2 separate regions of the Homo sapiens genome follow, and region 2 is linked to region 1. The links are contacts of gene promoters, found by promoter capture Hi-C in blood cells and fetal thymus (Javierre and others, 2016). All regions are on one chromosome and are shown on one strand. The core of a region is centred on a gene start or on the middle of the fragment in contact, and the rest is flanking DNA. Distances in the headings are between cores, read along the strand shown. Region 1 holds the start of NUAK1 (NUAK family kinase 1). Region 2 has its middle 100 kb from the start of CASC18.

The links. The method cuts DNA at HindIII sites, captures the fragments that hold promoters and counts their contacts. A CHiCAGO score of 5 or more calls a contact.
Region 2: a contact is called between a fragment that was not itself captured here and the fragment with the promoter of NUAK1 in region 1, in 1 of 17 cell types (endothelial precursors). The highest score is 5.0, in endothelial precursors.

What each region holds. Positions count from the first base shown.
Region 1 is chr12:106,137,364-106,140,737 of GRCh38, reverse strand. It overlaps NUAK1 (NUAK family kinase 1), which reads left to right and starts at 1,784. Exons shown (of 7, transcript NM_014840.3): 1 at 1,784-2,324. The coding sequence starts at 2,085. RefSeq lists enhancers at 1-462, 2,854-3,355. The HindIII fragment of the contact is 5,150 bases long and covers 1-3,374 here.
Region 2 is chr12:105,598,993-105,602,366 of GRCh38, reverse strand. No RefSeq gene overlaps it. Among named protein-coding and RNA genes, the nearest start is that of CASC18, 100 kb to the left of the region's middle. The HindIII fragment of the contact is 1,719 bases long and covers 852-2,570 here.

The DNA of each region.
Region 1 (3,374 bases), core at 535-3,034:
CACAACGTCCACAAACTGTATAGAAGCAGAACAGTTTCAGGATGGGGGTGGGTGGCAGGGAGGCCCTGCAAATGCGGTGGACAGAATAGGAATTGAATAGGCATGATGCGCCTTTGTGTCTGTGTTCTGTCATTGCTCCTGGGGAAGGGAAGAAGGGGCAGGGAAGTTTGTGTGAAATATCAGTAGAAGGAAAGTTTGGACAGGTAAGAATATCACGCGTCAGAGTACAGCAGAGACACGTGTGGAGGATGAGGGCAGTGTTTCAGGCCATTACTCTGGCAGCAGTGAGGAGGCTCCCGGGGAGGGTTGGGGAGAGCGGGCTGTTGCTGGAGTCCGGGGTAAGGTGACCAGGGGTAGACAGGAATGAAGGCGGCGGGAATGTAGAGGAAGGGCTGCACCTGAGAGCTGCAGAGGAGGCCCCAGTGAGGTCCACTGGTGGAAAAGAACCGCCATGCGATCTGCAGAACACCAGACCTTCTTCAGCCTTCACTCTTCCCACCCTAGTCTGGTACATTGCACCACTTGTTAAAAAAAAAAATTTCCCTAAGACCTCTTTTTCTCTAGCCTTCTTCCTTATTTTTCATGGTCTCTTCTTAGAACGGCGGCAGCCACGCCGCGGTGGGAGGCCCTTCCTGCCTGACCCTTACCGTGCGGGGTACCGTTCCTGTCACCATCGCCAGGATCTGGCCCTTTCAGTGAAAGGAAATCTCCCAAGGCCTAAGGAGGCAAGAGGCCTGCAAATCGCCTCCTGCTCAGCAAACGGGTTGCTCAGCAGGCCCGGGGTCCTGGTCCACCCCAGGTCCCTGGTTTGCCCACCTCCGATGGCGGCCTTCGCTGGCAGGGTGGGCGCCTCTGGGGAGCCAGCTCCGTCCCGGCGCCTTTAGAGCCCCATCTCTTCCACGTCCCTGGCCTTCCTCCCCTTCCAGGCGGCTGTCCCCGCCGGGGTCCAGATGGTGTCGGAGGGCCGGCGGTTCGACGGCGGGCCCGGGGTTCAGCCTCCCGGCCTCCCTCCGTCCCTGACTCTCCTTTCTTCGGAGAGGGCGCGGGGGCCGGGGCCAAAGCGCCGCTCTTGGGGTTCTCCTGGACTCGGAGTTGCCCCAGGCGGGCGCAGCTCTGCCCCGCGGGGTGCCAGCCTCGGGCGGGCAAGGTCCGTGAGTCACCGCCTGTAACCGAACACCAGGCCTCCCTGCCCCCTCCCCCAGCTCCGGCCGCCAGGCTGCGGCGACACCTACAAGAAAATGAAGGGGCGCCCAGGCCCGCGGCGGCCCCGGCCGTATCGCGAGCAGGTCCCGGCGGCCCCCGGCTCGCGGCGCTCTTTCTTCCCCGGCCCCGGGGCTCGGCCAGCCGCAACCGCCGCCCCGGCGCCAGCAGGAATCCAGGCCGAGCGACCGGCCCCGGAGCCCGAGGCGGCGGAGGGCCCGCGGTAGCTGCGACTGGCGAGCCCGAGAGCGCCCGGGGAGGGGGCGCCCGGCTTGGAATTTCCCGGTCCCTTCCGGCCCAGCGAGGACAAAGCACTCCTGGCCGCCGCCGCCGCCGCCGCCGTGGCCTACGCCGCGCCGCACAAAGGGCGAGTCGCGACACGCTCCCATCCCCCTCCCAGCTCACGGCGGCCCCGGCCCCGGGTGGCTGCAGGGAGGTGGGGGAAGCCCTGGCTGCACCGCCCCTCGCTCCCCCTCCCCTGGGGCCGCGCGAGCGCCGCCCCCGCCCCGTCTGCGCGTCCTCCCGGGGAGGGGTTGGGGGGCGCGGCGCCCCACATAACACTCCCCCTCCTGCGCTGCGAGCCACCCTCTCCCCTCCCTCCTGCAAACACCACCGCCTCCCCTGCCACCGCCGCCACCTCGCCCGACGCTCCACAGCTCGCCGCGGCCGGGGGGCGGTGCGCGGACCGTGCGCGCCGCGGGCGCCAGATGTGCAGTCCCCGCCGCCGCCAGTGACCGAGCCGCAGTCCGAGCGGTATCGGGCCGCCTCCCTGATGCTGCGGGGGCGACCTTGAGCGTACAGCGGCTTCCCTCGGTGGGGACCCCGACATCCCAGCGCTGTGCCCGGTCTTGCCCTCTGTAGCCCGGCTCGCCCCGCGCTTGGACATGGAAGGGGCCGCCGCGCCTGTGGCGGGGGACCGCCCCGACTTGGGGCTGGGGGCGCCGGGCTCTCCCCGAGAGGCGGTGGCGGGGGCGACTGCAGCCCTGGAGCCCAGGAAGCCGCACGGGGTGAAGCGGCATCACCACAAGCACAACTTGAAGCACCGCTACGAGCTGCAGGAGACCCTGGGCAAAGGCACCTACGGCAAAGTCAAGCGGGCCACCGAGAGGTTTTCTGGCCGAGTGGTGAGTGGGGCAATCCTGGAGGGTGCGGGGGGCGCTGGGTGGACGCGGCCGGGGACTGAGGGCGTGCGAGGCGGGGGTCTGTGCGCCCTGGGGCTCTCTTGACAGAGAGGGGGCTCATTGGGAAGCCCCGAGACAGACTCCTCACTCTTTCTCCAGCACCCCGTGACTCAGGCGTGTCTCTGTCCTGAAACACTTGTTACATCCTGTCTGCACATATTTTATTTTATTTTTTGGTTTGTTTTTAAAAATTTAATCCTAGCAGCAAAGGAATGTTTTAGATTTGCAAACACTTTGCAGCGTTGGGACGGCCGGGGTCTCTCTCCCTCGCAGGCACTCATTTAGACCATGCCCCGAAACGTCTTATTTCCACAACTCTCCAAAGAACCACATTCCCAGCTAGGAGCTAGCCCCTCAAGTCCGGTGTTTTGTAGGTGTCCCTACCCCCTTCCACCCATCTGCCCGCAGCTCCTTGCTCTGCATCCTCCCACTCAGACTCTGCATCGCCCTGATACTGCTGTGACTGCAAGGGAGGGCGACTCTTGCCTGTTTTTGAGACAAGGTTAGGGAGCAAAAATAAAGACTACTGCAAGCCTGAGGATTCTAACAGTTTGCATCATGGCTTTGGGAGGACCGAAATGTCCAGGGCATGGGTAGCTACAGAGATAGCTGTGCTTAGTTGCAGCAGGCTCAGTTGTGTTTCAGCTCCTGGTTGCAGGGCTACCAAACCGCTGAAGGGGTCTGGCCCCGCTGCTCTTGTGACAGCTGACACCCTGCCAGGGTCCTGGCACCATTTGCACAGCTCCAAGGAGTGCTTTGAGTGCCTTGGGGTCTGTCTGCCTTGTCCCAGCCTTGGTTTGTTGTTATTTTCACTTCTGCAGAACAGGCCCTTGAAATCCACACTGCTTGTGGCTAGAGAGTTGGGTTCAAAGTGACTGACTGTTGCAGAAAGATTTTGTGTGGTGTGTGGCAGAAAATTAACATGGTTCTTTGATTTGAAGCAGATCAGATGTATTCTAATCGATTTAGGGCCAAAGTCAGAAACTGATTATG
Region 2 (3,374 bases), core at 462-2,961, 540 kb after region 1:
CAAAGCCAAACCATATCACCCAGGAAAGAGAAGCTTGCTGGAAGTAAGGAGGGAGAATGTGATGGAAAAGGAAATGTCAAAGCTAGATGACCTCCTTCACAATTCAGGTCCTTTAGCCTGGTTGGGCACCTAATGGGGAAAAAAGATGGAGTGGAAGCTGATGAGGATTTAGTGAGATGCTGAGCACAAGAAAAGCTGCTTTGGGGGCCCAGCGGCAAAGTGGGATATAGAGTTGTGAGGACTCCTTGACTCTATAAATATGACCCAGCTCTCTCCTGGGAGCAGCTGGAAGTGGGCCTGACACAAACAATGGTGGTATTAGCAGTACGAGAGGAAGGAGAATTTTCCTAATACCTAAGCAGGCACTGGCCAAAGGAAAGGCGAGCTGAAGCAGAAGCCAAGTCGCAGAGTGATGCTTTCTGGTGACTGCGGCCACTGGGCTGGCTTGGGAGCTACCAGAGATACTGCAGAACTCAGGGAAGGAGCATTGAGCTTCAGCCCTGCTGTTAGGCAGGGGAAGGTTGTGGGGATGGTAGACATTTGGGCTGCAATTGTGGATGTGGAGATATGACACACAAAAGTACACTGATGTCAGAGTCCCTGACACAACATAGATGCCCTGAAAAAAACAGGAAGGCCAGGAAAATTTTACACAAGGAGGTGAGAAAGTATTTCTGATTAGTCCTGAATCATAAAAGACAAAATTGATCACGATCACGTACTCTGGGTCACTGAGGTTGTGCTGTCTATATAGGAGAGAGAGATTCATTCATTTGGGGTTGGGGGAAACCAAGGAAGATATACTATTTTGTTTCTGTAATCCAAGTTGACACACTGAACATTTTCAAGCTTTTCAAGAAAAGTTGGAATTCAGCAAGGGCATTTTGACAGCACTGAAATTTATGTCTGGCTGGAATGAGATAGTACTCCACATTTTTAAACAGTTTTGGTCAGAGGAGAAAAATGTAAAATTGGTCCCTAGCTAATGAGGCCCTGATCTTCCTTTTATGGCTCTCTAGTATGCAATTAAGGTTAGCTTCATGTAAACTGCCAGTGCGCTCAGACTTTTAACAGCCTTATGTATGTCAGGAAGGAAAATAAATAGTCCCCTGTTTGTGCTTTATGTGGGGAAATTATTGAGATAAACAGCTTGGGCCTGGCAGGTGTGACTTCTTTCAGCTTAACGTGATGGATTTGCCAGTGGAAGCTAGGCTGATAGCACCAAACTGTTGATAGAGGAAAAACATGGTAAAGATTCTGACAGTTATATAAGCACCAGAGCTAGGCATGGTCTGACTTGTAGCTGTGAGATTCTCAGATTTTCAGTGTCTGAGTATGGAAGAAACTAGAATGCTGAGATAGAGGAGACTCATTCTGCAGGAATAGGTCAAATCCTAGAGCTCTGGAGGAATTTAGAGATAAGGAAGTGAGTCCTAGAAAGGGCTAAAGGCTACCCAGCTATTCAGAATTGGACCCAAGGTCTCCAGAACCCATGCTGTTCCCACTATTCTAAACAGCTTCCAAGCACCTTGACAAATCATGCATTGATGAATTCAGTCTTGGAGACCTGGGTTTGGCCCCTGGTTTGGCCACCATCCCCTTGCTCTGGTCACCCCTTCTATTACCTCCACTATAATCCATATTCTTCACCACCTCTAGCATTTCCTAAAATGCAGTTCTGAGCATGCCTCACACCCTGTCCCCTATTTAAAACCCTTTGATGACCCTCTCTGCTATCAGAATAAAATTTTTAGTATTGCTTAAAAGGACCTTCCAAAGCCTGGTCTGTGCTTACTTATCCATCTCCATTCATAATCTCCAATTCCCTCTCACCTAAACTCTATGCTCTGGTCATTCTGAACTATTTGCTCTTTCCCTAAATGTAGAATAGCCACATAAAACACAGGATCCAGCTTAACTGTATGGACTGTTTGGGTCATATTCATCCTAAAGCATTATTTGGGATTAAAATTAAATAAATTTAAATTAGTCAAATTTAAATTTATTTAATTTTAATCCCAAATAATATTTTAGAATGAATAAATTAATCCTAAAATATTAATAAATAAACAAAATTTAAATGTGACTATATATATATAGAGAGAGAGAGAGAGAGAGAGAGATGGGTCTTGCCCTGTCACCCAGGCTGGAGTGCAGCGGGACGATCCTGACTCACTGCAACCTCTGCCTCCCAGGCTCAAGTAATTCTCATGCCTCAGCCTCCCGAGTAGCTGGGATTACAGGTACGTGCCACCATGCCAGGCTAATATTTTTTTTTTTTTTTGTATTTTCCGTAGAGATAGGGTTTCGCCATGTTGGCCAAGCTGGTCTCAAACTTGACCTCGAGCAATCTGCCTGCCTCAGCCTCCCAAAGTGCTGCGATTACAGGCATGAGCCACTGCACCCAACTATTTTTATTGGTTAAATGTGGCGTAAATCTGGCAACGTTCAAATTGGGCCTGGCTTTTCCTCACCTCTGGGACTTTTTTAAAATGTGCCATCCTTTAGCTGGAACACCAAGCCTCTCTCTCATTGCTTAGCTAACTCATTGAGTCAGAGACTCTAAAGCTTCATTTTCACCTTCCACAGAATGCAGTTATTGCTGGCATGTGACTACCAAGTCAGCAACTATATTTCCAAGCCTTTTGCATCCAGGTGGGCCATGTGACTAGATGTCCCCAGTAGAATGTGAGTGTAAATATGCAGCCACTCATGGGCATAGTGGTTAAGAGGCAGGTGTGCCTACTCTGCCCTATTTTTCCATCCACCAACTGGAAGTAAAGGACTTCCAGGTCCTAGGAGATGATGGAGCTACAAGATGGATGGAGCCTGGGTCCCCAAATCATTGTGAGGAAGGCCACCCACCAAACACATTGGCAGTCCCATGAATGAGAAGTAAACTTCAGTCATGTCAGTGAAATGCGGGGATGTGGGGATTTGTTTGTTACAGCAGCTAGCATTACCTTAGCTAATATACCCATTCTTTGGGTCTGAGTTTTGATATCCCTTCCTCATAGAGGGCACCCCAAACTGGGTTAGTAGCTCCTCTTATGTGCTCTCAACCCTCCCATTCTTATTCCTCCAGTAACACCCACCATGCTGTATTGTGATCAGCTCTTTGCTTGTCTATTTACTTTTTCTGCAGGACAAAAATGTTCCTTGGAGTTTGGTATTATGATTGTGTTGGCTATGGCTATATCTGCAAAGCATAGTACTAATGAACGAATGAATGAATGAATGAGTGGAGCCTTTCCAATTCTTTGAGTCTGTATCCTTATCTTTAAAATTGAGAGGACAGACAAAATGATCTCTAAGATCTCTCCCAAATCTATGATTCAGGAGTCTATAAATATAACTGAAATGGATACCTATTG